2 separate regions of the Homo sapiens genome follow, and region 2 is linked to region 1. The links are contacts of gene promoters, found by promoter capture Hi-C in blood cells and fetal thymus (Javierre and others, 2016). All regions are on one chromosome and are shown on one strand. Each heading gives the region's core, a stretch centred on a gene start or on the middle of the fragment in contact. The rest is flanking DNA. Distances are from core to core; before and after follow the strand shown.

Region 1 (4,889 bases), core at 1,422-3,921:
TCTGAAGACTCCTGAGAATATTGGACATAAATTGCTTTTGAGCTCTCTGTGTAAATACAAAGCATTTGTATCCTAAGTGTACAGGAGTCGTGATCCATCCTCAAAGATGTAAACAGCCAATCTCAGTTTGACAGCACTGTTTTGGTCAAGCCAGAGCTCCCTTTGAGAAAATCTTGCTGTTGTCTGTTCTGGAAAGAGGCAGGAATATGTCTCCAAAACTCCATAGTAGCCATGAGAAGAATTGAGACTATAGGTGCCAATTAGTAAATTAGCATACATTGTGAAAAGGTGAAGGAAGTCATCGCATCAAATCTTGGTTAAAAGGACATTTTTCCCACACTGAGTATGTCAAAATGTAGAGCACAACATCAGTCAGATGTAAAGAATTCTTGTACAGGTGACTTTTATTTCCTTCTTAGGCCAGAATGGGCTTTTCTGCATTTTGGATTATGATGATGACACTAATAGCTAGCACTTACTGCATGCCAATCTTCAAGGGATTTACACATATTCTATCAATGGAGGCTCACCATAGCCCTAGGTGGCAGTCACTGTCATCCTCCCCATTTTACAAATGAGTAAGTCAGGGTACAGAGAGATGAGGTAACTTGCCAACAGTCAAGCAGCTGCCAAATGACAGAGCTATATATGGATTCCCACAGTCTGGCTGAGCAGAGGTTTCCATTTTTTTTTGACCTCTGTCAGGTTCTGTTGCATCTTGATTACACAGGCAAAACATTTATTACAACAAATGCTGTTTTCTAGGAAGAGAATGGAGACTACACATATGTGGAAAGAGTGAAGATACCCTTGGATCATGGGACCTTGTTAATCATGGAAGGAGCGACACAAGCTGACTGGCAGGTGAGGATCTGCAAGTAATATGAATCTGCTTTCATGTGGAGGCAGTTTCCTGACTCTGAGGACTATTTCTAAGTAGACATGGTGAAAAGCAAGCTGCTTTTACAACGAGCAAGAGGGAATGAGCTGACATTCTTTCCAAGGAGTTTTGCTACTACTGACAATCCAGGTGGACACTAGTGTGTCCGGTAGAACTTTCTGTGATGATGAAAGTGTTCAGTATCTGTGCTGCCTATTGTAGTAGTCACTAGCCACATATGACTGACTTCTTAAAATGTGGCTTGCATGCTATAAAGAACTGAGTTTTTAATTTAATTTTAATTAACTTAAATTTAAATAGCTTCAGGGTAGCTAGTGACTATCTTATTGGAATACACAGCTCTGCAGCTAGGCCATGCCATTTTTAGGCCAGATCATTTCTAAGGTGCACATGTTAATGTCAAAACACTTACCATAAGAATGGAATCTCATGCCTCTCTTTGGTCTCATCCATTTATATGTTTTATGAGATTTGGGAAATGGCAGGTGTCTGAGAGGAACAGCAACAATTAGAAAAGATGAAAATATCTCACTTCAGAGGTGCTGGCATAGCACAGTGGGGCTGGGGATGGAAATTTGTTTCAAAGAAGGGACCTTTCTCCACAAGACTTCAAAGAGCTTACTACTCATTTAAGGGGGATGAGATGGAAATATTTCTGCATTCTCATGAATAAGTTTTAAGTCGCTTTGAACTAAAAGTGTGTATGTGTGTATTTATGTCAGAGTTATGTGTATTTCCATTTAGCATCGAGTGCCCAAAGAATACCACTCTAGAGAACCGAGAGTGAACCTGACCTTTCGGACAGTCTATCCAGACCCTCGAGGGGCACCCTGGTGACGTCAGAGCTTTGAGAGAGAAGCTTCACTGAAACGGAGCAAACCTTCCACTGAGAAGCCACTTCAAGAGGCTGGTGCTGCTAGATCTCATGATGTGGCTGTTGGGAAGATGGTGGGGTTTGTTTGCCAGCTTGGAGTCCTATTAAATGAAAGCCAGCAACTCATGTTGGTAATAGGTCTACTGTGGGAACAGTTATCCCTAACCACAGCTCAAAATCGCTATCATCTTTAGGCAAATTAAAATCTATGTGGCAGTGCTCATGGATGATTTTGTTCTAAGCAGTTTTCCTCCTGCCCTCCCCCGCCCCCCACACGCCCCGCCTTCATTTGAAGAAATATCAATGGACTTGTGCCTCTGGGGAAAAGAAAATCTCACGTGTTTGTTCCTTGTGACTTCAGTGAAGTGGAGATATAAATATGCGTCAGGGACTCTGGAGCCTTCCGTAGGCAGACAGCTGCTGAAACCCAAACAGAGGTGGTTTCATCTTGGCTTGCATACTATTGTAATGGAAAGCTACATATTCAGGGAACACTGTAACTGAGTCTTCCTGCAACACACTCAAGACAGGTTACAGGCCTCCAAATAAAGAGTGGTGGCAGTATGCTCTCGTCTAGCCACCTTCAAGTAGTCACCTGTAATACAAGAGAAAACTGTCCCCTTAAAGGGAGGAATCACTGAATGATGTCACGGGAAGTAGCAGGCTGAAATTGAGGCTGAAGAGCAGCAGAAGGCCTGCTCATGACAGCTGTTCCACATAGATTATTTTCCCCTCGGGAATCACTTGAGTCATCTAGACCCAAGTCAGATAGAAGTGGGAGCAGCCCTGCAGGGAATGCACTCAATTGCCTAATAGTTCTCGTCACCTTGTGTTTCAGTAGCCCTATGACTAACGCTCTCTTCTGACTCAATGTTTTCTTACATACAAGGTCCCAAGGTACAAGGGTTAGTCTGTGATGTCACTGAGGTTCCCAAAACAAAACAGAGTGGCTGCCCATTGTTGCATCATAAAACCACGTGTCTTCTTGACCTCTTGACTCAGGAGCCGTGTACCAGATTCATTCCAAACCAAGATACAGAAAACCTGAGAGAAAGGAAATGAATTTAAATGGATGAAAATAGGGCGGGAGAGTTAGAGTTTCTCTGTCTGCCAGTGGGGGAAAGGTACAGTGCCTTCTTGCTTTTTATCCTGTTTCCATTCCAGGCTGTAAGATTGATGCTGTCCATGATCATAGGAAAATGCCAAAGGCTGGGCATGCTCTGACTCGGCACTCAGATGGAGCACCATGCCTGGCCAGGCTGTTCTCTGACAAGCTCTCTGGCTCCTGGCATTGTAGTCCCCCTGCCCTTTTAAAAAACAAAAAACAAACAAACAAAAAATGAGCACGGCTTGTTTCTCTAAGAAATATGAAATACTTTCTAAAATTTGAGCACCACACCAAGCTTTCCTGTGAGGGAGGTTCAAATCACCATAGGAATAAAATAAAGCCTCTTTTCAATGCTTAGCTGTTCTCCTATTAATGCAAATAATACCTGGCCAGGTGATACAGCCAGCTTTGGTGATCAGTTTGATGCATGACACTAGGAAATTTATCTTCCATTCCTTACTAATGAAAGAACTGGCAGATGGTTCCAAGTCTTCCAGCGTCCCTCTTTCTTAATGGAGGGTCATGATCTCCCCGTGTGGCAGCTGTGCATTTGATCTCTTCACTTGTCACACCCATGTCTTCCAGGGAAACATTTCTACTCTACAGCAGATGGAGTGGGCCACCACCTGGGTTTCTTGGTCTGAGAGCAGCAAATCTTCAGTTTTGTTTTTCTTGCTGTCACTCCAGATACCACATGCCAGAACTGCCCTTTTCTTTACCATTAAGATAATGTCCCTTCTGAAATGGCAAGTAGGTACTTGCCATAGAGTAAAACTACAGGGTGTAGGCATGGACAGGAATTCCAGACCATGGCAAAGGGCAGTGTGCCTCAGTGACTGCAGCAGCCTGTTGCTTTGTTTTGCTGGTGCTAGATCTGAACTAGGAATTAGAGGTGAAGCTGTTTTTGCTTACATCGCGTGTAAAGCTGAGGAAGCAAATATAACAGCGGTAGCATGAAGAAAAACAGGTTTCGGTTTTGTTTTTGCTGCCCTTCTTCTGAGCTTCAGCAGGCACTGTCCTAGGAGCTTTTATACATAATCCCTTATCCTTCCCACAGCGCTGCAAGAGAGAGGTCCTATTCCCATTGTAGAGGCTAGGAAACTGATCTCCAAGACGTTAGGTAAGTTAACAGGGCTTGTAGTGGCAGAACCAGATTGCAGACTGCAGGCTAGTTTCTCGGCCTGTTTGGTTTCCCTTTGCCATGCTGAATGTAGGCGAAATGGTCTGCTGAGCACTCCCGGGAGCCTGAGCCTCAGGGCTGGCTCCTGTGGAGCTGGTCACAGCTGACCACAGGCCACCTGTTTGTTCCCTGACTTTCCTGTTCATCAGGGCAGGCATCTGCATCTCATCTTTCCTTAATCAGCATCAGCATCCTCTAGCCAGAAACTGCTGGTGACTGGACTAGCAGTTGCCCATTTCATTGGGGAAGCTCCTTTTGAGGGGACAGAATCCAACTTCTGGTGAGTTAGACAAATTCTCAGCCAACTTTCCTTGATTTTCTGGCAAGTGTTTCCTGACCATATCCACCTTCAGAGATATGAAACTTTTAGAGACAGATAAGTTTTCCCCGGTGGTCCTTTCTCACCTCATTCTTACCTGTGAATACACTTGGGGACCCTGAATGACACCCAAACTCATAGCAGGCTTTTTCACAATACTTACCAACACCATTACTCCAGTCAGCAGCCCAAAGAAACATCAGGCTCCACACTAAAAATGTCTTCTTTATAACAGGCAACTTGCTTCAAACATGGGTTGGAACACACACTTAGCACCAGATTGCATCCCCAGTGTTGAAATCAGGATCCACATTGATCCATCATTAACCCACTAGCTCGGGTGGCATTGACAATTCCTGATAAGTTTGAGTCACAGCTAATAAACCTGCCCTTTCCTTGTGGCACCCACTCTCTGCCTCTGTGGCTGATGTGATCCTGCCCTAGTGCGTGGCAGGTCTGTCTGGACACAGTCACTATAGAGCCGTCTCCTGAATTGTGTCATTGCAA
Region 2 (4,889 bases), core at 2,390-4,889, 140 kb after region 1:
GAAAATATCACAAAGTGGATGGCTTAGAAACAAATCTTTCTCACAGTTCTGGAGGCTGGAAAGGCCGAGTTCAAGGCCCTGGGAGATTTGGCATCTGGTGAGGGTCCCATCTTCCCAGTGTCATCTCATGTGGCAGAAGAGGTGAGAGGTCTTCCTCTGCCTTCATGACCCAATCACTTTTCAAAGGGCTCACCTTCTAATACCATCACCTTGGGGGTTAGGATTTCAAATATGAATGTTGGGGGGACACATTCAGTTCGTAGCATCTGGGGTTGTCCATTTCCATTTCTAATGTTTTCAGCTGTTCAAATTAAGCCACCCATCAGTTTCTCTGCAAAGCCCTTGCATGTCAGAGCACTGATACTGTGAAGTGGGCAGAGAAGGGACTACTACGATTTTATGGATGAAGAAAGAGCTCACAGTACCAACTGGTGGCTTTAGTCGCTTGGGTTTGTGGCCGTACTTGCTCCGAATCCAAATTTGTTTATTCTTGTCAGTTTTCTTGTGTGTGTGTGTGTATGTGTGTGTTTTTGTTGTTGTTGTTGTTGTTGTTGTGAGACTGAGTCTCACTCTGTCGCCCAGGTTGGAGTGCAGTGTCACAATCTCGGCTCACTGCAACCTCTGCTGCTGGTTCAGCGATTCTCCTGCCTCTGCCTCCCAAGCAGCTGGGACTACAGGCACGTGCCACCTCGCCCAGCTAATTTTTATATCTTTAGTAGAGACAGGGTTTTACCATGTTGGCCAGGCTTGTCTCAAACGCCTGACCTCAAGTGATCCGCCTGCCTCGGCCTCCCAAAGTGCTGGGATTACAAGCTGAGCCACCGCTCCTGACCGATATAGCTCTTTTTAAAAAACCTCTAGTATAACGTTGAATAAAAGTGGTTGAGAGGACAGCCTGCCTTGTTCTCAGTCTTAGTAGCATTGAGTGCAATCTTCTGCTCTTGAGTATAACGTTACTGTATTTTTCATTCTGTCCCTTATCTAATAAAGAGTCCTTCTATTACTAGTTTGCTGGGAGTTTTACCATGTATGAGGGTTCAATGTTGTTAGATGTTTTTCATCTGCATTTATAGAGATATGATTTTTCTCTTGATTATCAATGTAGTAAGTTACATTGATTTCTTAATGTTAAAGCAACTTCACATTGCTGCAATAAACCCCATTTGGTCATGATGCATTGTCCTTTTATATACCATTGAGTTTGGTTTGCTATTTTAAGAAGTTTACATTCAAGAAGGACATCATTCTATAATTTTTTTTTTTGTAATGCATTGTTAGTTTCAGTATCATGATTAATACTGGTTTCATAGATGTTTGGGAAACTGTTCCTTCCTGAATTTTCTAGAAGTTTGTGTCCAAAAACTTCTTCAACCTTTAAATATTTGGTTGAATTCAGCTGTAAAACCATAAGGGCCTGGAGGTTTTTTTTTTCTTCTTTTTTTTTTTTTGTGGGACGGCTTTTACTTATAAATTCAATTTCTGTGACAGTTCGAGTTTTCTATTTCTTGTATCAGATTTGGTTATTTGTGCCTTTCAATAAAGTTTGTCTATTTCATCTAAGTTTAATTATTGACTTAAAATTGGTTATAAATATTCTGTTATCCTTTTAATACATTTAGGATCTTTAGTTGTATCTCCTTTTCCTTTCCTGATACTGAAATTGATACATGCAGGAGGGGGATTACGGGGAGGGTCTCCGGAGAATCTCCAACCCATCTGTGCACTGGGAGAACAAGATGGAGCCAAGGGAAGCTGTGGCCATGCTCAGCGGGGAGGAGCCTGGCCTCTTCAATTTCTGTGTGGTGGCCTGGGATTCAATGTGAGTTTGGAGGCCTGTTAGCAGGACCCCCTCTTGCTCTGCTGACAGTATTTTTCTTTTTTCCTTTTTGCCCAGTAAATTCCGTTCCCCTCACCCTTCAATGTGTCCATGTTCCTAATCCTTCCTGGTGGTGTGACAAGAACCCGGTTTTAGCTGAACTAAGGAGCAAAATTCTGCAACAAAATGAGTTTTTTTGATCAGTCAATCTAACTGTTTATCAACTGTATTGAACTTTTCAAAGAACCAACTTTCAGTTTCATTGATTTTTCTCGTTTCGCCTTCATTTCTGCTCTTATCTTTATTTCTTTCTATTTACTTTGGGTTTAATTTGCTCTTTTTTCTAGCTTATTAATGTGGAAGCTTAGATCATTTGTTTTAAGTTGGTTTCAAATATATGCATTACAAGCTATTCATTTCTCACTTAGCATTATTTTAGCTACATTCCATAAACTTTGATCTGCTGGTTTTTAATCATTCAAAATATTTTCTAATTTCCCTTGTGATTTCTTTTTTTAAATCAATGGTTTGCTTAGCATATGTAACTTAGTTTCCAAATATTTGGGGACTGTTCAGCTTTCTTTGTTAATGATTTCTACTTTAATTTCATTGTGACTAGAGAATGTACTCTATGGTTTCAATCCTTTGAAACTTATTAAGACAGTTTATGGCCAGATTTGTTTACAACATGTGGTCTATCTTAATGTTTCATTTGCACTTGAAAAGAAGTATATTCTGTGGTATTGGGGATGGTGTTCTATAAATGTCAATTAGATTAAATTTTTGTATAATGTCCAAAAGTTCTGATCCTTAGTGTCTTTTGATCCATTTGTTCTATCACCGAGAGAGTGGTATAAAATTTTCCAATTATTATGAACTTGTCTTTTCTCTTTTTCGTTCTGTCAGTTTCTGCTTCATGTATTTTGAAGCTTTGTTATTACGAGCATAAACTTTTAAGATTGTCACCCTGATAAATTAATCATTTTATTCTAAAATGCCCCATTTTATTTTTGTTAATTATTTTTGTCTTGAAGCCTACTATCAGATACCAATATGAACACATCAGCTTTTTTCATGATTATTATTTGCTTGTTTTTTTTCACATTTTTACCTTTGACCATTTGTTTTTGTATTTAAAGTGTGTCTCCTGCACACACCATATGCTTGATTCTTGCTGTTTTATCCAGTCTGATGATCTTTTAATTGATCTTTAGTCAATTCACATTTAATGTAACGTGTGTGTATGTCTTCCACTTAGGACAAGTGCCTGTGTTTGTTGTTTCGTGGGGTTAAATCCCCCTGCTGCATGTTTCCATGGTACCCAGTAAATAGTCTTTTTAAAATAGTCCCCACATTGTAAGTCGGCCTTCCCAATCAATCATGCAGGCTTTGGTTTGTCTTGCTCATCACCGTATCCTCGCATTTTACAGAGACCTGGCACATAACAGGCATTCACTGAGATGTGAATTACATAGAATTAAGATTTAAATAGAGGAAAATAATCGCTTCCTTATCTTACAGAAGAAAACAGTAAGGGCCAAAAAAGTCATGAGAGTTGCTCAAGGTCACAGTGTTAGCTAGTGCAAGGCAAAAGTGAAGACAAGAAGTGGAATGGCCAGAAGACAGCCATGTCTTCCCAGCCATACCTGTATTGAGAGATTCTGCTTATTTCCTTTCATGGGGAAAGAAGACTTTCCCATTCAAGGCACCTCAGAGACTGCAGCTCTACCTGGGACCTGGGTGCCCACTGTACCCATTGCCAGAATATGTAGAGCTTAGGGCAGAGTTTGAAAAATACTTTTGAAATTATATGTGTGTGTGTGTGTGTGTGTGTGTGTGTGTGTGTGTATGTAATTTTTTTTTTTTTTTTTTTTTTTTTTTAGATAGAGTCTCGCAAACACCCAGGTGGGAGTGCAGTGGCACGATCAAATTCACTGCAGCCTCTACCTTCTGGGCTCAAGTGATCCTCCCACCTCAGCCTCCCAAGTAGCTGAAACCACAGGCACATGTCATCAAGTCTGGCTAATTTACAAAAACATTTTGGCTGAGTGCAGTGGCTCACGCCTGCCATCCCAGCACTTGGGAGGCCGAGGCGGGCAGATCACGAGGTCAGGAGTTCAAGACCAGTCGGGACAATATGGTGAAACTCCATCTCTACTAAAAATACAAAAATTAGCCAGGCGTGGTGGTGCGTGCCTGTAGTCCCAGCTACTGGGGAGGCTGAGACAAAAGAATTGCTTGAACCCGGGAGGCGGAGGTTGCAGTGAGCAGAGATTGTGCCACTGCACTCCAGCCTGGATGACAGAGCGAGACTCCGTCTCAAAAAAACAAAAAAACATAAAAACCTTTTTTTGGTAGAGACACGGTCTCTCTATGTTGCCCAGGCTGGTTTCAAACTCCTGGGTTCAAGGGATGCTCCCACCTTGTCCTCTCAAAGTGTTGGCATTACAGGCGTGGGCCGCCACACCTAGCCAGAGTTCAACAAATATTGCAGGCACGTGTGGGAGACCAGGACATGCCTCCCCAAAACATGAAGGATTGTGCTAAAGACAAGCAGCAGCACATTCAGGAAAGCTCTCTACCCTGGCCCTATTTGCCTAAAAGTAGGACACAGGTTTACAAAGACAAAAGGTATCCTGTCCCTCTGTCTACCTAGGAGAACAAAGACAACTTTAGACCCCTATGGCCTGGAGATGGTACCAGAGGAATTTACATTAACAAGCTTGACTAACTGGCCTTTGTCTTTTTTTTTTTTTTTTTTTTTTGCCTTCTCACAAGTTGCCTCCTGGAGAGACTCAAAGCCCTATTTCTTTGTCTTGTAACTTAAAAAAATTACTGTTCTTTGTTGAAGATGCTATAAAAACTGGAATTCAAAGTCACCTCTTCCAGAACGACTCATTCCCTCCAGATTTCTCATGTATAAATGAAATACACATGTCAGTAAATTTCTGTCTGTTTTTCTCTTGTTAATTTGTCTTTTGTAACAGGAGTCTCCCCCAACTAAGAACCTATGAGGGCTACAGAAAATCCCCTACAAATGAAAGGGGCAGAAATGACAAACTGCGATGAAAGG

Evidence for each region. The method cuts DNA at HindIII sites, captures the fragments that hold promoters and counts their contacts. A CHiCAGO score of 5 or more calls a contact.
Region 2: a contact is called between a fragment that was not itself captured here and the fragment with the promoter of ALKBH3-AS1 in region 1, in 1 of 17 cell types (endothelial precursors). The highest score is 5.2, in endothelial precursors.

What each region holds. Positions count from the first base shown.
Region 1 is chr11:43,918,273-43,923,161 of GRCh38, forward strand. It overlaps ALKBH3-AS1 (ALKBH3 antisense RNA 1), which reads right to left and starts at 2,672. Exons shown (of 6, transcript NR_038907.1): 1 at 2,602-2,672; 2 at 2,114-2,192; 3 at 1,314-1,390. It overlaps ALKBH3 (alkB homolog 3, alpha-ketoglutarate dependent dioxygenase), which reads left to right. Exons shown (of 10, transcript NM_139178.4): 9 at 766-864; 10 at 1,646-2,002. The coding sequence ends at 1,738. It also overlaps a transcript of ACCSL not described here. RefSeq lists an enhancer at 1,954-3,153. The HindIII fragment of the contact is 1,418 bases long and covers 1,759-3,176 here.
Region 2 is chr11:44,060,938-44,065,826 of GRCh38, forward strand. No RefSeq gene overlaps it. Among named protein-coding and RNA genes, the nearest start is that of ACCS, 2.9 kb to the right of the region's middle. The HindIII fragment of the contact is 1,793 bases long and covers 2,744-4,536 here.